Regions from separate parts of the Homo sapiens genome. Here regions 1, 2, 3, 4, 5 and 7 are each linked to region 6. Evidence: promoter capture Hi-C in 16 types of primary human blood cells and fetal thymus (Javierre and others, 2016). All regions are on one chromosome and are shown on one strand. The core of a region is centred on a gene start or on the middle of the fragment in contact, and the rest is flanking DNA. Distances in the headings are between cores, read along the strand shown. Region 1 holds the start of PROK2 (prokineticin 2). Region 2 has its middle 8.1 kb from the start of GPR27. Region 3 has its middle 43 kb from the start of PROK2. Region 4 has its middle 19 kb from the start of PROK2. Region 5 has its middle 97 kb from the start of PROK2. Region 6 holds the start of PPP4R2 (protein phosphatase 4 regulatory subunit 2). Region 7 has its middle 70 kb from the start of PROK2.

The links. Contacts are between HindIII fragments. The CHiCAGO score rates a contact against its expected background, and 5 or more counts as called.
Region 1: the fragment with the promoter of PROK2 here is called in contact with the fragment with the promoter of PPP4R2 in region 6 in 10 of 17 cell types (erythroblasts, naive B cells, neutrophils and 7 more); the score reaches 10.2 in erythroblasts.
Region 2: a fragment that was not itself captured here is called in contact with the fragment with the promoter of PPP4R2 in region 6 in 3 of 17 cell types (naive B cells, total B cells and naive CD4 T cells); the score reaches 8.8 in naive B cells.
Region 3: a fragment that was not itself captured here is called in contact with the fragment with the promoter of PPP4R2 in region 6 in 1 of 17 cell types (M2 macrophages); the score reaches 5.3 in M2 macrophages.
Region 4: a contact is called between a fragment that was not itself captured here and the fragment with the promoter of PPP4R2 in region 6, in 1 of 17 cell types (neutrophils). The highest score is 5.8, in neutrophils.
Region 5: a contact is called between a fragment that was not itself captured here and the fragment with the promoter of PPP4R2 in region 6, in 3 of 17 cell types (fetal thymus, total B cells and naive CD8 T cells). The highest score is 9.5, in fetal thymus.
Region 7: a fragment that was not itself captured here is called in contact with the fragment with the promoter of PPP4R2 in region 6 in 1 of 17 cell types (neutrophils); the score reaches 6.3 in neutrophils.

What each region holds. Positions count from the first base shown.
Region 1 is chr3:71,783,849-71,786,548 of GRCh38, forward strand. It overlaps PROK2 (prokineticin 2), which reads right to left and starts at 1,300. Exons shown (of 4, transcript NM_001126128.2): 1 at 1,109-1,300. The coding sequence starts at 1,204. It overlaps LOC105377156 (a long non-coding RNA gene), which reads left to right and starts at 1,542. Exons shown (of 4, transcript NR_199161.1): 1 at 1,542-1,675; 2 at 1,788-1,899; 3 at 2,089-2,185; 4 at 2,369-2,579. The HindIII fragment of the contact is 4,477 bases long and covers 1-2,700 here.
Region 2 is chr3:71,744,400-71,747,099 of GRCh38, forward strand. It overlaps a transcript of EIF4E3 not described here. Among named protein-coding and RNA genes, the nearest start is that of GPR27, 8.1 kb to the right of the region's middle. The HindIII fragment of the contact is 881 bases long and covers 833-1,713 here.
Region 3 is chr3:71,826,857-71,829,556 of GRCh38, forward strand. It overlaps the pseudogene RN7SL271P. Among named protein-coding and RNA genes, the nearest start is that of PROK2, 43 kb to the left of the region's middle. The HindIII fragment of the contact is 1,433 bases long and covers 686-2,118 here.
Region 4 is chr3:71,802,618-71,805,317 of GRCh38, forward strand. No RefSeq gene overlaps it. Among named protein-coding and RNA genes, the nearest start is that of PROK2, 19 kb to the left of the region's middle. The HindIII fragment of the contact is 9,218 bases long and covers 1-2,700 here.
Region 5 is chr3:71,880,843-71,883,542 of GRCh38, forward strand. No RefSeq gene overlaps it. Among named protein-coding and RNA genes, the nearest start is that of PROK2, 97 kb to the left of the region's middle. The HindIII fragment of the contact is 152 bases long and covers 1,363-1,514 here.
Region 6 is chr3:72,995,458-72,998,157 of GRCh38, forward strand. PPP4R2 (protein phosphatase 4 regulatory subunit 2) reads left to right here and starts at 1,354. Exons shown (of 9, transcript NM_174907.4): 1 at 1,354-1,614; 2 at 2,620-2,700. The coding sequence starts at 1,581. It overlaps LOC124909395 (a long non-coding RNA gene), which reads right to left and starts at 1,734. Exons shown (of 2, transcript XR_007095961.1): 1 at 1,650-1,734. RefSeq lists enhancers at 979-1,028, 2,289-2,338 and a silencer at 1,209-1,838. The HindIII fragment of the contact is 5,282 bases long and covers 1-2,700 here.
Region 7 is chr3:71,853,848-71,856,547 of GRCh38, forward strand. No RefSeq gene overlaps it. Among named protein-coding and RNA genes, the nearest start is that of PROK2, 70 kb to the left of the region's middle. The HindIII fragment of the contact is 2,502 bases long and covers 2-2,503 here.

The sequences.
Region 1 (2,700 bases), core at 50-2,549, 1.2 Mb before region 6:
ATCTGTTGGATATATACAAATGCTGTCATAGCAAAAGGACTTTCAAAATTCTATAAACCTAATAACTAATATAGAGAAAATAGAGCTTGATTTTTTCAAGACAAAGATACTTCCTTTAAAGTCAAATGATATTATCTATGTATCAACATTTCAAACATAGACGTTTTATTTAAATCCCATTATGTGCACTTAAATATTTGAAGTAATTTAATGAAGGTGTGAAATAATTCCTCACTTAAAAAACAGTAAAGAAGTTGAACAACCAGGAAATGATAGCAGTTTTGCCTTGTTAATGTAAACTAGACTATTTAGTATTGTACTGCAAACCCAATTTTTTCAGATCCACACAAAATTGTTGAGAGTGGGAGAGAACTGAACTAGTTCCTACTTACAGAAAAGATGAAAACATCGTCTCTAAGTTTAAACATCTACACAGCAACCTACTCCATCATTATGCTGGAGCACTGGAGGTGCTTTGCCAGGAATTAGAAATTTAAAACTTTTATGGGGATACCTCAAGACCCTGAGCGCGGGGGAAAGCCCCGGAACCCAGAAGGAAGCTCCCACAATTGCTTTTCAAAGCGCTCACATGGCCCTGGACCAAGCGATTTCAAAGGGTTTCTGCGGAGGACGCATCGGGGAGCAAACTCTTTGACTGTAGGATTAAGACTCTGGGCACTTGGGGAATTCGTCTTGGTCCTTTGCATTTCAGGAAGGGGCCGTCAAATTTTAAGGTTCGAGGTTGGAGAGCCTCCAAAAGTACTTGAGAAGACTCAGAGAGAAACTTCTTTCAGCCTAACAGAAGAAAAATGCGAGGAGTGAGGCCGTGGGTGATGAGGGAGAAGTAAGCGGGAGAAGGTGGTAATAAAGGTGGTGGGCGACATCCTTGTCACTGTTTCTTCCAGGACGCGCCCAGTGTCCCCAGCCGTCTGCTGCTTTTGGATCTGGGTATTTTCCCAAGTGCACCAAGGGGCGACAGGGGCAGGTGTCCCCGCCCAGGGCGACCCTCCCTTTGCCTCTAGCCTGCCCTTCAGGGTCCCCGTCCCAAGCCCCCTGGGCACATCCCAGGCGCGCATCAGGGGCAGACAGGTGCGCCCGGGCCGCTTACCCCGGTGATCACGGCGGCGTCCCCAGCGCGGGGCGTGAGCAGCAGCGGCGGCAGCAGCAAGAGGAGCAGGAGTGGGGCGCAGCACAGGCTCCTCATGGCGCCCTCGGGACTGGGCGGCCGCCGGAGGCAGTTGGGGGCGCGGGGCCCGGGTGCGCTGGGTGGAGCGCGGAGCGGCGGGCGGACGGGCGCGGCGGCTCCCGCGAGCCTCCGGGCCGTTATAAAGGCTAGCCCCGCCGTGACTCACGCCGGCGCCCGCCCGGCAGCACACGCGGGGGGCACGGCGCGGGCACACACCCCACGCCCCACGCGCACACGCGCGCCCGCCTCGGCCCGGCCGGCTCCCAGACGAGCACGTGCTATGCGCGGCCCCCCGCGCCCCCGCCTCGGGCGCCACGCAGGCAGCGCTCCCGGCGGGGCGCCCCGCTCTGCGCCGTTCCCTCCGCCGTCGCCCAGCCACCGCCTTTCGCACGCGCCGGAACCGCTTTTGTGGTCTCCGAGACACTCATTTGCTGTCCTGGTTTCCAAAGCTCCACGTGCTCAGCGCCGAAAACTTGCAAATCATTTGCTGTACAGATGTTTAGGGGTCGCCTACTACGTGCGGGGCGCTGTGGACACATAGGGGGCGGGGGGTGGGTGAGGGGGACACAGCAGCCCCTGAATCCATTCGTTTGTTCAGCAGGTCTATACTGGGCGCCCGCTGCGTGCCAGGTACTGCCACCGGCTCTCTCCTCACGGTGGAATAACTTAACAGAGAAGACAGACATCAATCAAATACCCTGGAAACGTGGAAGGCAGGGGAAAGAACAAAGGGAGAGCAAAATCGCCCCAATCCCACATCACCCGCGACGTGAAAGGATTTGTCCTTCCAGCTGCGGGACTCCTATTTGTTTATTTCAAGTCAGAGGCCTTCCCTTTATGCCCACATCTGTTCCCGACCCTCTCCTCTGATTTTCCTCACATGTATTTCCTCCCCTCTTCAGCCCCGCGCCAGCTCCAGGCACAGCCGTTCAGGGTGATGCCAAAGGGAAATGAGAACGCCTGGTTTCGAGTGCCAGCCTGAGGCCCCTTAAGCCCTAGGTACGCAGCTCTCTCTTCTTTCTTAAACTTTCCAGCCCAGGAAAATCACCCTTCGGTTTTACAGATGCGATAGGGCGTTATTGTGATTCCTTCATTCACGTAAACATGAATTGAGTGTCTAGTGGGTTCCAGGCACACCAGGAAAGAATAAGTGACAGATTTGCCCTCCATCTCTCATCCTAGCCTGGCTCCAAAAACTGCAGCCTGTTTCCCTCAACAAAAATGACGTCAAGAATACCTAGATGTGACCACACCGAACTTGCTTGCCCGTTTTGGGAAACCCAACTTTCTTCCTGAATAGTCAGAACCTCTGGCTTTCCTGGTCTCTTAAGAACCGCAAACTATTGAAAAGCAGATGCGTCTTTCAGCCTCTTTAATAAATGCAGTAAGGAGAGTTGGGACAGAGTTACTTTCAGACTGTGGGGCTCCCCCGTGCCAAAGCATTCAGACGAAATGTGGGGGATAGCGGGGGGAAGGCAGGCAATTATCTGAATGTTAAACAGCTGAATATTTGG
Region 2 (2,700 bases), core at 23-2,522, 1.3 Mb before region 6:
AAGTATGAAGAAGGTAAAGTAAGAGCATTTCCAGATACGTAAAAAATCTTAAAATATTCACCTCCGGCTGGGCACGGTGGCTCATGCCTGTAATCCCAGCACTTTGGGAGGCCGAGGTGGGTGGATCACAAGGTCAGGAGTTTGAGACCAGCCTGATCAACATGGTGAAACCCCGTCTCTATGAAAAGTACAAAAATTAGCTGGGCATGGTGGCACGTGCCTGTAGTCCCAGCTACTCAGGTGGCTGAGGCAGAAGAATCACTTGAACCTGAGAGGCAGAGGTTGCAGTGAGCCGAGACTGTGCCACTGCACTCCAGGCTGGGTGACAGAGCGAGACTCCGTCTCAAAAAAATATATATATTTACGTCCAAAGCAGCTTTCTCAGGAAGCTACTGATATATGTATACCACTTGAAAATGAAACAAAAGAATAAAACAAGAAAGAGAAAGATGTGGGTTCATTCCAGGAAACAGGAAGTCTCACAGGGAGAGAAGAGAACAGCATGCTTTGGAAGGCAGTGCCAGGGCCACAGCTGTGCAGGGAGCTGTCCAGACCAGATGAAGTAAGAGAATGAAGGAAGGGTGGTAGCAGGGGTTTCTCTGAGAAATGCAGCTGTTTATCCAAAATGTTTGACATATGGAAATCAGACCACTGCAAGTTCACATGGGAGTCTAAGGAGAATCGAACCCAAGTCATACTTTTTATGTGATTTATCATAAAAATCTGTCTGCCTTATCTCTAAGATTTATTTTTACAGATGCTCTCCTTAACAACTGTTACAATTCTGCAAATGAAAGGGTCTCTACCTCATCTAAATAAAAACCCAATGCAAAGCTTGGTGCTGGTGGCATAGGAAAAATTTATATGTGTGTGGGAGGTGTATGTATATAGAGGGTGGGCATTTAAAAGAGCCAAACTTTCATATTTTATTACAAGGAACTCGTTGCATAATAGGTAAACTAGCAATTCAAGAAACAGTAGGTACATCCTTAAAGATGTGTCTTACAGGAACTTAAAGATGTGTCTTATGGAACTATGAACCTGTTCCATAGTTCAGAACATTTTATATGGATGTACCCCCCAAATCGCCACCATATAAAGTATATTCACTGTAATTCTCTAGAGTAGAAAGTATCAATAATCGATGCACTATTTGATTTTCGACCAAATAAGAGAGAAAGGAGATGAAGGCAAGGATTACAGCAGTAGCAGCTTTGATATGCAATATTTATACCATTATTCCATGCACATGAAGAGATGCTTAAGGAATAGGTTTGATCTTGTAATCTTCGGCACTCCCAGTAGCACTGTAGTCCTGGTGGTTGCATTGAGTCTGTCAATGCAAAATTTAGGATCACAACATGACTTAACCACTAGAGAGAGTTTAAACAGCTAGTAAATATAATGCAAAAGAAAGGGGCCACATTTTTTAAGAAGGCCTTTTTTTCTCACTTGGAGCCGTTGCTATAACTTGCTTAGAAAACCATTATAGAAATATCAATAATGGCATTGTAAATAGTGATAACATGTTAGTGTAGACTCCTTGTTTGTTTCTTTTCGATATTGAAAGTGTTTATTTTCAGGTGGTTAAAATACTGCCACCTATGCCGTTAGCATAATGGTTTTTCGCAATTCTGTACTAGCAGATACAATCCCAGTTTAATACTTCTATCATCCCAATAGATTTTCTTTCAATTATATATTAGTCGACAAAGCTTTCTGTACATATTTGTCAAGAATTCAGGCTTTTGGTCCAGACAGACTGGAATTTTACCTTGCTCTTCTACTTTGTGCTGTGTGACCACAGACTATGGTTAATTGCTTTAAAACTCAAGGCTCCTCATCTGTCAAACTGGGGTAGGAGATTTTGTAGGAGTAAATTATTAATCATATATGCAAAACAGCTTAGTGCATTTTTGGATCTAAAAAATGATAGCTTTTCTAGTGGCTGTGCTGTAATATAAAGCTATTGGTTAAATAAAACTTTCTTAATCTCTCTTCCCAGGTTTACCTAAACATCAAAGCCCCAAAGCACGTAAACGTTAAGGCCCACCAAAGGGGGCAATCCTTATGCACATGATCATATGGCAAGGCATGACTTATTTCTGTGGCCAGCCTCAGGTAAGAGTACAAGAAATCACACCTTAAGAATCTGCACTCACTCAGAAAGCCATAACTAGGAGTTCATGTTACTTGCCAGGCTCCTATCCACCTTTTAATAAAGACACCTCCATAGGCCACAGAGGTGACCTCACTTTCATATGAATTTTTTTGATAATTCTGTTTTCTTATGATATCCACAGAGTTGTGGAACTATCACTATTACCTAATTTTAGAACATTTTCATCACCCCCCAAAAAGCTCTGGACCCATTAGTGGTCACTCTCCAATCCTTTCCCCCAGCTCCCAGCAACTACTAACCAACTTTCTATCACTATGGATTTACCTGTTCTGGGCATTTCATGTAAGTGGATTTGTACAATATGTGGTCTTTCGTGTTTGACTTCTTTCATTGAGCACAGTATTTTCAAGGTTCATCCACGCTGGAGCATCACATACCAGTACTTGTTATTATGAGTGAATAGTATTCCACTGTAGGGATATATGACATTTTATTTATCCATCCATTCATTCATTGACCTTTGTGTTGCTTTATCCTTTTGGTTATTAGGAATGACGATGTTATGAACATTTACATGT
Region 3 (2,700 bases), core at 152-2,651, 1.2 Mb before region 6:
CCGTTACATTACATTGCTACAACACAACTCTACCTTGCAGTGTATCAAAAATGATTGGAGGACTTTCCTATCTTTACCTTTCTTCCCCTAGTCTTTGTGCTTGCAGACAGAATGCCATCTCCTCTCTAGTGGCAGCCAAAGGATGTTGGGGCAAACAGTCCCTCATTAATTAATTAATTGAGCAGTTGATTGTCAATTTGTATCTTTTTGTAAGTGTTTAATGTTTGACTTTTTTTCTAATATTCTTTCTTTTCAAAAAAATTCTAACATACAAGAATCTACCTCCCTCCTAGACCTAATTAACTCTGAACATTTTGCTAGCTGGGTGTGGTGGCACATACCTGTAGTCCTAGCTACTCGAGAGGCTGAAGCAGGATTGCTTGAACCCAGGAATTCTGGGCTGTAGTGTGTTATGTCAATTGGGTGTCCACACTAAGTTTGACATCCGTATGGTGACCTCTTGAAAGCAGGCAACAGCAGGTTACCTAAGGAGGGGTAAACCGGCCCAGCTCAGAAACCAAGCAGTTAAAAACTCTCATGCTGATCAGCAGCAGGATAGCATCTGTGAATAGGCACCGCACTCCAGCCTGGGCAATATAGTGAAACCCCAACTCAAAGCAAAATTTTGTCATATTTGTTTCATGTGAAATTTTTTCCCAAAGAAACAAAGCATTGATTCAGTGGAAGCTTCTTTTGTACTCTTCTCCCTCCTTCTTCAAAGGTGCATTGAAGCAGATATTCTTCTAATTTATGTTTTCGTGTTTTATTACATATTTGTGTAAGATGAAGCAATATACGATGTATTTTTGAACTTTATTATGAAAAAATTAAACATAGACAAAATTACAGGGAATAATATATAAACTTTGTTTGGGGATTTTTAGCATCTGGGTAAATGATATCAAATTCCACATATCTTCCTGCAATTTGATTTTATATACCTTATCATGTTTCTGAGGTGGATCTATATTGACACATTAGATTCATTTCATTCATTTTAACTTCTCTGGAGTATTTCATTGTAGGAATGACTATAACTTATTTTTATTTTATTTTATTTTATTTTATTGAGACAGAGTCTCACTCTGTGGCCCAGGCTGGAGTGCAGTGGTGCAATCTTGGCTCACTGCAACCTCTGCCTCCCAGGTTCAAGCAATTCTCCTGCCTCAGCCTCCTGAGTGGCTAGGATTACAGGCATCTGCCACCACGCCTGACTAATTTTTGTGTTTTTAGTAGAGACGGGGTTTCACCATGTTGGCCAGACTGGTCTCGAACTCCTGACCTCAAGTGATCCGCCCACGTAGGCCTCCAAAAGTGCTGGGATTACAGGCGTGAGTCACCGCATCCGGCCCCAGACCCTTTTAACTGAAAATGATAAAAACTCAATTCAACTTAGCTTAATGAAAAAGAAAATGTACTGGCTCATGTCAACTGAAAGTGTAGCTGTGGCTGGATCCAGGCTTCACAGAATCCTCTGGATTCTCTCTCCATTCATCTCTCATCTCCACTTCTCCTTGTGTGTTGGACTAATTCTATGTAGACAGGCTTTCTAAGTGGCAGTGTTAGGGGGCTGGGGATGGGGGAGTGGGAAAGGACCACTGACATTACAAGACCTAATTACTTACAATTTATTGAGAGAGAGAGAGAGAGAGAGAGAGAGAGAGAGAGAGAGAGAGAGAGAGACTGAGTTCTTCCTGGTAAGCCACACTTTTATCCCAGTTTGGAAAATTCTTAGAAAGGATGTCAACTGGAACTGGAACAACCACAGGGATGATGAGTGGTCCAACCCAGCGATGGTACAGTCCAGCACAGGGGAGAACAGGAATACGGGTGTGTGTGTTTGTGGGGGTGGTTAGGTACTGTGGTTGACAGCCCCACCAGAACTACTTGGAATGGGAAAGAGTTTCTCATCAAAATAACATTAGACAAAAGTGAGAGCTGTACACAACAGAAGGACCTCAGAGAAAGCCACTGAGAGGGTGGGTGTAATTTTGGCCCAATCTAGAACCCACTGAGATATAGATGCAAGAACACTGGATTTGGATCTGGAAGTCCATGGTATTGATAGCAACACTGACACAAGCTGTGTTATCTTGCACACATTACCAAGCCACGCTAAGCTTTTTTTCTTCATCTTTAAAATGAAGGTGGTTATATCAATTTTCTAGGGCTATGGTGATGATAAAATGGTATAACCATCTACAAGCTTTTGCTAACTTCAGATTTTGCTGTTCAAGTTGTTCAAAATAGTTAGGGCATTGGCAGCTGACTTCACTTCATTGTACAGAGATCTTGGTTGCACTAAGTTGTAAGGCTTTATTCTTCTGCAATAAATATTTAATCACTTGGGCTAAGAATGGTATTGAACAAAAATACTCTCAAAATATAATGTATACTTGTTATTTCATTTTTGATACATTTCCACCAATGCGTTTTTGTAGTAGCAGTCAATCTTTTTAATAAATATTCATCTTCATTTGAGAGCAAGAGCGGATTCATTGGTTTCCAATATTACATTTTTTGAAAGGGCATATTTTTAAGCACCAGTGATTTTTTAAACCAGTGATTTTTTAAAGTCTCTTTTGAACTCTTGAAACATTGATATTTTCAACTGGAATTAAGGAACATTTCTGACATATTTCAAACCCTTTCTCTGAACAAGGATGCAAACAAATGTATTACATTAAGGAAAAATACAAA
Region 4 (2,700 bases), core at 128-2,627, 1.2 Mb before region 6:
TGGTATTGTATTCCTCACATAAAAGCAATCTGGAGACAGCAGTCCAGGGCTGGTGCCCATGCTCCACGATGCCATCAGAGGCAGGGGCTTCTTCCATCTTCCCACCCAGCCATTCTTGGAATGTTGGTCCTCACACATAGCTCCTGGTGGGGGCACCATGGCTGCTCCATCACCAGCACGGGGCCTATGTCTAGTTGGGGAGTCAGGGGAAGGGGAAAGGTTAGAGTGCTTGCAGGTTGAGAATGTCTGCCTCTTCCCAAATAGGTACTTACAAAATTGCACTTTATTTATTTCCTATGCTGCATTTATTGCATTTGATAATGGCAGATATAATGGTTAATTTTATGTGTCAAGCTGACTGGGAGAAGGGATGCCCAGATAGCTGGTAAAACATTATTATTATTATTATTTAAAGGCAGAGTCTCCCTCTGTCACCCAGGCTGGAGTGCTGTGGTGTGATCTCAGCTCACTGCGACCTCCACCTCCTAGGTTCAAACGATTCTCATCCCTCAGCCTCCTAAGTAGCTGGGATAACAGGCATCAGCCATCATGCCCAGCTACTTTTTTTGTATTTTTAGTAGAGATGGGGTTTCACCATGTTGGCCAGGCTGGTCTCAAACTCCTGACCTCAAGTGACCCACCTGCCTCGGCCTCCCAAAGTGCTAGGATTACAGGCGTGAGTGCCTAGCCCCTGACTATTACCATCTTTTAGGGACCTTGTAGCAGCCACTGCTGATGCTCAGCTCAGAAGCCCTCACATTCCTTTACCATTTCCATGCTCTCCTACTTTGGCTGCATTGTTCTTTTGCTATGTCAGTGGGACCTGCAACAGAACTGCTCTCAGGCTCCCAGAGAGGCCCTGCTCTGCTTGTGCAGAGGGCCAGAAATGCCGGAGTGCTTTTTTCTGCTTGGGGTAGCCAGTAGCCAAGGACCTGCTAACCCAGCAGAATGAAAGCCCAGCTCCTTTATTCTGACTCAGGAAAAACCCTTAGATGCAGTTGACTCTCCAGAGCTCCCTGCAGGATCAGGTGGAGTCTGGCCTTTGGTTTGAGATCGCCACTCTGGTGGGCTTCTTCCTCTTGCTTTGCCGTGTTCCCCTACTCTTACTTTGCCCAGTGTTCCCAGGAGACCCTGCCTTCATAAATCATTTTCACAAAAATCTTTATCTCTGAGTCTGCTTCCGGGGACCAGACTATGCCTTTTTAATTCACCCAGTGCCTAGCATAGCACCTGACACATAGTGGGAGTTTGAAAACTTCTTCAAGACTGGTTGAAAAATGCATAATATTAAACCCAATTAAACAAACAGTCCTGTTGGAAAGACACTTTTGAAGCCAGTCAAATTCAGATGATTCAGTAACAATTAGTAACATAGGTTTGATTCTTTTTATTTTTTTATAAGACAGAGTCTCCCCCTGACGCCCAGGCTGGGGTGCAGTGGAGTGATCTTGGCTCATTACAATCTCCATCTCCTGGGTTCAAGCAATTCTCCTACCTCAGTCTCCTGAGTAGCTGGGATTACAGGCGTGCACCACCATGCCTGGCTAATTTTTTAATATTTTTAGTAGAGACAGGGTTTCACCATGTTGGTCAGCCTCGTCTCAAACTCCTGACCTCAATGATCCACCTGTCTTGGCCTCCCAAAGTGCTGGGATTTACAGGCGCGAGCTGCCGTGCCCAGCCTTACATAGGTTTGATTCTATCTAGCAGAACTCAAATTCAAAATAACCTGGTGAAAGTTGAATACTTAAATTTAAGGTCACAGATCACTACAATATGACAGGGACCAGGCATTTTTAGTGTGTACAATTCTTCTATCAGCTTAGGTTCCTGCTCAGAAATCTGAAAGTCTCGCCCCACTACATGCCACAAACCGTTTTTTTTCCTTTTTTTCTTTTCTTTTCTTTTTTTTTTTTTTGGAGACGCAGTTTCACTCTTGTTGCCCAGGCTAGAGTGCATTGGCATAATCTCGGCTCACTGCAACCTCCATCTCCCAGTTTCAAGCAATTCTCCTGCCTCAGCCTCCCGAGTAGCTGGGATTACAGGTGTGCAGCACCACACCTGGCTGATTTTTGTATTTTTTGTAGAGATGAGGTTTTGCCATGTTGGCCAGGCTGGTCTCGAACTCCTTACCTCAGGTGATTCACCTGCCTTGGCCTCCCAAAGTGCTGGGATTATGGGTGTGAGCCACCAAGCCCAGCCAAACCCTTATTTTTTTTAAGGAGGTTGTGCACACTGGTTCCCCAGAAGCAAAGCATCAGGTAATGTTAACTTCGGTTATTGCAAATGATGGCTGGAGGTCTGGGGAGAGGGATTGATCATACTGGGCACCTGCATCTCCTGTGCAAATCTCTCCTGGGGCCTCAATGCTTACGCAGTTTGCTCCATACACCCTTGGTTTGAGTGGACCCTCCCCTGGCTCACAGGCTGCCTTTCATTGTTCTGGGTGCTCTCAAGCAGTGATGCCACTGTGGGGCATGGTGCCTGACCCCTAGAGCAATGCCTCCTCCAGGCCCCAGAGAGCTCTCCCCTGAAAAGTCAAGGCTTGAAAGAAGGAAGCCTGCCATTGGCTGAGAACTGGAATTATTACAACCCCCAATGCTGGAGGTGGGACTTGCGGGAGGTGATTGGATCATGAGGGCGGGTTTCTCATGAATGGTTTAGTACCATCCCCCCTTGGTACAGTATAGCGAGTGAGTT
Region 5 (2,700 bases), core at 189-2,688, 1.1 Mb before region 6:
GATTTACAGACTTCTCCCCTTGCCAATGAAAGTTTTTTGCATTCTTCACATTTGTGAAATGTACCACCTGCCACGTGTCTTTGCATGTGTCATTCTGCTGCCTAAACGCTACCCTTTCCTTGTCCCTCTTTATTCTTGAGATCTTAGACATAGGTTTTAAGGGGCGATCTGAGCTTTTGGTCAAGTTAGATTCCTCTGAGCCCTGAGATTTCTTCCACTCCTCTGACATTCCCGTAGAACCCTGCTCCTTGTCTTCAGGGTGACTTTCTTTAGTTGGTAATTATACATTTGTATCCAGGGTGTGGTGGATGAAATATTAGCATAAACTCTTTGTAGCTCTTACCATTAAATTTATTTCCCCATTCCTTGAATGACTGGGGCTGGCCTTGTAACATGCTCTGACCCATGGAATATGGAGGCCCTACCCCTCCTGGCATGCTGCCCTGTGACCTCCATGCTGGTCAGCCCAGCAGCAGTGGAGAAAAGGACAGAGAAGAACTGAGATCATGCTGAGGTGTCTCACGTGAAAAATCAGCTCATGAAGGGAGAAATAGCCTTGGGAGCCAGACCATCCTTGTGAGGGGAGGCTTCCAGTTTATTTTGTTCCCATTCATTACATCAGCACCTGATCCAGATTTTAGATTTTTCTCATGCCAGCTCTGTGTATGGTGAGATGTACGGGAAGTTTAAATAGCTCCACACAGTGTAGTATTTTGTATGTGTTAGCTCGAGCTGCATGCTAGGGGCAGACTGCTACCCAGATGAGAAATTTATACACCAGGGCAATCAGCTTGGTTTTAATCAGAAAGGATTTCAGAAACATTGATTCTAAAAGCATTGCTAATCCTTGCGTGAAATCCAGAGTCTTTGGTCATTCACAAAATGAACATTAGAAATATGTTCTGTTAAAATTAGAGGTTTTAAATTAACATATTAGATGCTGTAAGTGGATTCTCCTTGGGCAATTTAGTGGTAGTCAGGATACATGGCTTGGCCAGAGCATTGTGGGGCCAGTCCTCTGCCCTTGTAAGAGGGTAGAAAGTCCAGGGAGGCCTGCAGTGGGTACTCTCAGGGATGACACTGGAGACTTTGTCTCCTGGTCTCCTGCTGCTGCCTCGAGGCTAGTGTCATGCCTGCTGCATGTGAACCTTTTTAGGAAAGGTGAGGTTAAAAGGGCAAAGACCTGGGACTTCATCCAGCTTGCAAAAACATTTTCTATAAGCCATTTTATGCCTTGTATTTAATAAGTACGTTTAAATAATATATCTGTAATATATGGGCCACAACTTGGAGACTTGCTTACATTATAACTTGGCCTTCACTTGCAAAAAGTGAAGACGTTGATTGATCTACTTTTTTTAAAGCTTTTTCCAGATCATGGCACATGGAAGGAAAACTGAAACAGAGAATGGCAGTGTTACTGAAGAGATGTGATGAGACTGGAGTTAGGTCTGATAACATGGCTGGAATTTACAGGGCAGAGTTCTAGAGAAGTAGCAGTCATACAGAGAAGAAGCTTCTGAAATCTGCTCAGAAAAAAAAAAAAAAAAAGAAGCTTCAGGAATCCTAGACTCTTTGGGTACCAAGTGACAAGTATGCAGCACACGAATCCAGGTGGCTAGGAAAAGAACAAAGCTATGAGCTGAATTGAGATTTGGAGCTTGTATGGAACTGAGTTTTTTTGTTGCTGTTGTTTTTGTTTTTTTATTTTGACAGGGTCTCACTCTTTTGCCCAGGCTAGAATGCAGTAGTGTGATCTCAGCTCACTGCAGCCTTGACCTCCTGGGCTCAAGTGATCATCCCACCTCAGCCTACCGAGTAGCTGGGACTACAGATACGCGCCACTACACCCAGCAAATTTTTGTACTTTTTGAAGAGACAGGGTTTTGCCATATTTTTAGGCTGGTCTCAAACTCGTGGGCTCAAGCAATCTGCCTGACTCAGCCTTCCAAGAGATATTGGCTTAAGTGTATATGGCGTATACAATCTCATATGGAACAGAAGTGTATTGTTGTAAGTGTAAATGAATAGGCTGCTTTGAAAATTCTGGGTACTCAGTTGACCCTCAAGAAAGGCCATGTGTTAGGAGAAGGTTACTATTGTCTTGGAGTTAAAGATATATTAGCCCCTCCCTAACAAACATTAAAAACAAACCTCAAAGGATCAAGCTGATCCATAAGGAAATTAACTGTCTGCCAGACAAAATCTGATATTTAAAGGAAGACGACAAAATCCAGACACTGAACAATGCATCATCCAAAATGCCCAGAACACAATAAAATATGCACAGACACCTGAAGAAGCAGGAAAATGTGAAGGACAGAAAATCAGTCAATAATTGAAACAAATCAGAAGAAACAAGAAGAAGGAAATAGAAGAAAAGGCTTTTAAACAGCTACTATATACACAGTCAAAGATGTTAAAGGAAAACAAAAATGTTATGAGGAAATAGATGGCAAATCTCAATAGAGAAATGGAAACTATAAAAAAGAACCAAATTATAAAAACTGAAAAATACAAGATTTGACATAAAAATTCACTGGATGGGATTAATAGAGACACTACAGAAGAAAATATTAGTGAACTCAAAGACAGGGCAATAGTTAACTAATCAAACTGAAGCATGCAGAGAATAAAAGATGAAAAAAAAAAACTGAATAGAGTTTCAGTGACCTATGGGATCACATCAAGTGATCTAAC
Region 6 (2,700 bases), core at 104-2,603:
GGGAGCCAGATGATTTGGGTTCTGGGTTCTAGTTCTGTCTCCCCAGACTTGCTGTCTGTGACACAGCTTTCCCATTTGTAAAATGTCAGGGCTGCAGAGGACTTCTGAGGTTTCCGCCCTCTCCTACCTCCTGGGAGATTATGTCATGTAATAATGCTAACAGTGGTAATAAAAACCCAGCCACGTTGAGTGTTCCAGGTTTCACGCACTGTGCCAAATGTTTCACATTTGCCATTTCACTCAATCCTCGTGGCCGTTTTACAACCCTCATTTTATAAATAAGAACCCTGAAGCTGCCTGAGTTTAGGTAACTACTTCAGGGCCACACAAGGAGTAAGTAGTTGAGTTGGGATTTGAATATTGATTCCAAACCTTGAGCTCTTAATGACTTTGCTGTATACATTACTTCTTGCCACAGGTGGGCCAGTGACGAACGAACGTTGGGTTAAGCAGGGAGGTATTCTTGTTAGGATTATTAGCAATGCTTAGTGTATGTATGTATTGTTAATTTTATTATTATTTTTTTGAAACAGTCTCGCTTTGTCGCCTAGGCTGGAGGCAGTGGCGCGATATCGGCTCACTGCAACCTCCGCCTCCTGGATTCAAGCGATTCTCGTGCCTCAGCCTCCCGAGTAACTGGGATTACAGGCACGAGCGACCACGCCCGACTACATTTTGTATTTTTAGTAGAGACGGGGTTTCGCCATGTTGGCCAGGTTGGTCTTCAACTCCTGACTTCAGGTGCTCCGCCCGCCCCAGCCTCCCAAAGTGCTGGGATTACAGGCTTGAGTCACCGCGCCCGGCCTGTATTTATTTTTATATAGAGAAGGGCGAGGGAGCGGGGTCATTTTGTTACCCAGACTGGTCTCGAACTCCTGGGCTCAAGCGATCCTCTCGCCTCGGCCTCCCTCCCAAAGTGTTGGGATCACCGGCCTGAGCCCCCTGCCCGGCCTCGCTCTACGTTTTTTAGGCGCATTCTGAACGTGAAGTGTATACACTGAATTCTCACAGCAACTGCATAGGGCATCAGTACCAGTGCCCTTACTGTACAGATGGGGAAAATGAGGCTCAGACAGGCGAAGTAAGTAGCTTAAGTTCACACAGAGAGGAAATGGCAGGGATTCAAAGCCTAGGAGTCCGCCTGCAACCCTCTCGCCTGACCGTCCAGTCTTCAGCTCCGCGGAGCCTGGGCCTGGGGCTGGGGCTGGGGCTGAGGCTCTGGAAGCCGCCGGGACGCAGACGCCACTGGGCCCCAGCGTCACACCTCGGCCGCGCACGCGCTCTCGGGTTCCGGGCCGGAGCGCGCGGCGGGAGCGAGGACGGCGGCAGGGAGCGTGCGCGCGGTGACGTACCGGGCGCCATGTTGGAGGGTTGGTGGTAGCGGCTTGGGGAGGTGCTCGCTCTGTCGGTCTTGCTCTCTCGCACGCTTCCCCCGGCTCCCTTCGTTTCCCCCCCCCGGTCGCCTGCGTGCCGGAGTGTGTGCGAGGGAGGGGGAGGGCGTCGGGGGGGTGGGGGGAGGCGTTCCGGTCCCCAAGAGACCCGCGGAGGGAGGCGGAGGCTGTGAGGGACTCCGGGAAGCCATGGACGTCGAGAGGCTCCAGGAGGCGCTGAAAGGTGGGGGTAGCTGCCCCCTCTCCATTCCCCCTCACCTTCTCCGGCTCGCTCTTCTCTCCTTTCAGGGCGGATGGTTCCGAGGACCGGGGCCGGGCGCGGCGTGGGGAGAGTGCTTCCCGGGCTCCCATCCCCCTCCACCTCCCCAGGGGCGGGGAGCCCTGTGGGCAGCTCTCTCCCGCCCCGCTCTGGCTTTGTGTCGGCCGCCGGCGTCTGGGCTGGGGGAGGGGAGCCGGGGAAACTCTTGCGGGGGCCCCAGTCTTTCTCCCACCCGTTCAGGGGACGAGTGGCGGACCCGCAGACCCCTCCCTCCCAGATATCCTCTTTTCTCCACCAGGCTACCCGTACGCTAGGCGTTGGGGTGGGAGAAAAAGTAAACGGTTGGTGGGGGCGGGGGTAGGGGGTAGCATCGCAACTTTTAAGTTGTCTCAGTATGCCTTTTTCAGGGCTTTTGAAGTCATCTTTCCGCGCCCTAATTTCGAGGTGGTTGCCTTCACTGTTCTTGATTGCACGCCTTCCACGCAACAGGCTTGAGAACAGTGGCTTACAAACTTCGAGTAGAGAGATTTCAGCGTTTTGAGAATTATTCTTTGACATTCAGAATCATTTGGGGACGGCAACTTGGGGTAGTTGGTGCTTCTTAGAAAGGCAGATTTATGGACTTAGATGAACAATTGGTGGGAGTCGGGGCCTGGGGATTTTTATTTTCACTGGATTCCCAGCTTAATATAATGCTGGTGTTCCCCCGGACCACACTTCGAGAAGCACTGCGTTAAAAATGGTTTGTGAAGTTGAGTGCCCCCTTTAGGAGGATTCTTGTTATCTGTAAAGAGGGTGACATGTTGGAAGTAGAACTTGGAGGATTGAGGTGGTAATTTGGTTGAGAGGCCTTATTTTTTTAATTTTGTATTTAATTGATTTTTAATAAGGTAAAGGACTAGGAGGAAAGTTTGTTTTTAGAGCGCTTTTGAGAAAACTGATAACGTTTTTTTTTCTTCCTTCATCTAGATTTTGAGAAGAGGGGGAAAAAGGAAGTTTGTCCTGTCCTGGATCAGTTTCTTTGTCATGTAGCCAAGACTGGAGAAACAA
Region 7 (2,700 bases), core at 3-2,502, 1.1 Mb before region 6:
AAGCTTTCACATTCAGATCTTCAGCTGCCTCATCTAATATCCAATAGTGATAGTGAAGAATAAAGGAGACAATATATGGAGATTATTTAGCACATGCCTGGCACACAGTGGGTATCTTAGAAAGAGTAGCTTTTGTGTCTTCAACTCAGCTTTTAGAGAGCATTCATGTTTTACTGATCCATTTCCTACTGCCCTCCTCGGTAGCCATGAACCTAGCATGTGCCTTAATATGTGTTCAGTAAATATTTGCTGAATGATGAATACGCGAATAAATGAATGAATATGAAAACTGTCTATGATGTCTAGAGGGACATTTGAGCAATCTCATTTTTTAGTCGTGGAGAGCAATATCTGCTATTTGGCAGATAGCATTATCAGGAATCATCAGAAAGCATGCAGAGTTGTGAAATGTCAATGCACCCATCCTTTGAAGAGTCGGCACTTCTGCCAAAGCTGCACAGAGCAGAAAGCTAGCTGGAAATGAACAGTGGCCTTCTCCATCACGCTTCAGCCCCAGGAGAGCAATGGGGGTTGCCTTGGGAGCAAGTACCCCATCACTGAATGACTAGACAGCTAGCAGCACCCAGGAGGGCCCATGGGCTGCTGGGCATTGGGTTGAGAGCTGGGAAACAGAGCTGAAAGACAAAACTCCTGCTTTTGAAAGTTCACAGCTGCTGAAGAAGACAGCTAAAGAGAATCCAGGTTGTGGGGTGAGCAGGGTGGATACAGGATGTGATTTGAGAGGTGGCAAGACCCCCTTGCCTAACAGTCTCTCCTTATCTGGTACCAGGCCTGGAATCCCCCATTCTGCAGACTCTGGGGCTAGATCAAGCTGTGTCTAAATTCTTCTCTGTATCCATCCTTGGCCCCTTACAGCCCAAGTTCCTTGATCCTTTGGTGACAATGGTCACTTTTCACATAACTTTCAGTTTCAGTCTGAACAAAAGGCAAGATTCACTCAAGCCAACACCTGTCATTCACCAGTCATTCTTCCTTTAGTTATTGAAATTGTCGCTGAGGATCTTTTATATGCTGGACACTGAGAAGAGGCTGGAGTCACAGGGGACACAGGCTACACATTTATGGGGCCCAGCCTGGCAGGAAAGACAGACAATTGAACAAAGCGACTATAGAAGAGTGTGCTGACAGCTATCAGAAGGGAAGAACAGCGGGCCCAGGGAAGTACACAGCAGTGGGGAACCAACGTTGATTTAAGGGTAGATCTGAGTGAGACCCAAAGGCTAAATAAGGGTGTTTAGGCAAGATGGAGTCCTCATGTCATAATGGCTAGAAGGGTGCAGTCTAGGGTCTGATGGCCAAGGTTCACATCCTGGGCAAGTCAATGTACCCACCTCAGCCTCAATTTCCACATTTAAAAAATGAAAATAATAATAATTCTGACCTCATAGGTTATTGTCCTCATGGATAAAGATTAAAATATATAATATTAAAATATATCTATATTATGACACAACTATAAATGTATTTATATATAATGTTTATTGTCAGAGTATCTGACACATAAGGAGAATTTATAAGGAAAATAATTATTAAGGATGGGCGTAGGAAAAAGTTCTCACTATTGAAAGGATAGCAAGCGTCCCCAGATATAAGAAAGAGAACAAAAAATGAGGCTGAGGAATTTGTGAAGAAGTTTGTTATGGCTAGATTCTGCATGAGAAGTAGGGAGTGTCTAAAACTTGGTTTGGAAAAGCAGGCACCAGAGAGGATCACCTATGCTGCTAGTCTAGTCCTGAAGTGGGGCTTCATTTTTGATGTCTAGACATCTGGCTCATTCAAAACCGTCCAATCCTACAACTGGCCCCAAAGACAGACATCCCCCTCAGTCACTGTTCACTGGTTTTGACTGCAGTGATCTCTTAGTACCCAATTCTGTCTCAGGTCTGTTGTGTCTTAGTCCGAAGTCATCCAGTTGCAAATGGCAGAAATTGACTCATTAAAAAAAATAATAATTTTTAAAAGGGCTCACGTAACCAAGAGATCTATGCACAGTCATGACTGGATCTGGTATTCAAACAAGATTGTAAGCAATCTTTTTCCCTTCTCATGGTTCTGCTTTTCTTTATGCTGGCTTCATTCTTTTTTTTTTTTTTTTTTTAAATGGTGTCTTTCTCTGTCGCCCAGGCTGGAGTGCAATGGCACAAACTCAGCTCATGGCAACCTCTGCCTCCCGGTTTCAAGTGATTCTCCTGCCTCAGCCTCCTGAGTAGCTGGGATTACAGGCACCTGCCATCATCCCTGGCTAGTTTTTGTATTTTTGTAGAGATGGGGCTTCACCATGTTGGCCAGGCTGGTCTTGAACTCCTGACCTCAGGTGATCCGCCCGCCTCAGCCTCCCAAAGTGCTGGGATTACAGGCGTGAGCCACTGCTCCTGGCCTTAAGTTGGCTTCATTCTAAGCCATGTTTTTCTCTATGGTAGTAAGTTGGCCATTAGTGACTTTAGGTTTATATTCTGGAAGCCCAGCTACCCCAGCAGAAAGAAGCTTCCTTTCTGCTCTTCCCAATAGTCACAGCAAAAGTTCCAGGGTTCACTCTTCTAGAAATGACTTGGGCCACATTCTCATTACTGAAGGAATCACTATAGCCAGCAGAGTAGAATACACGGATTGGCCAGACCAAGGTCACAGGCCCACCCCTGGAGCCAAAGGTCAAGGTCAGCACCATGAGAGTCATGTGAA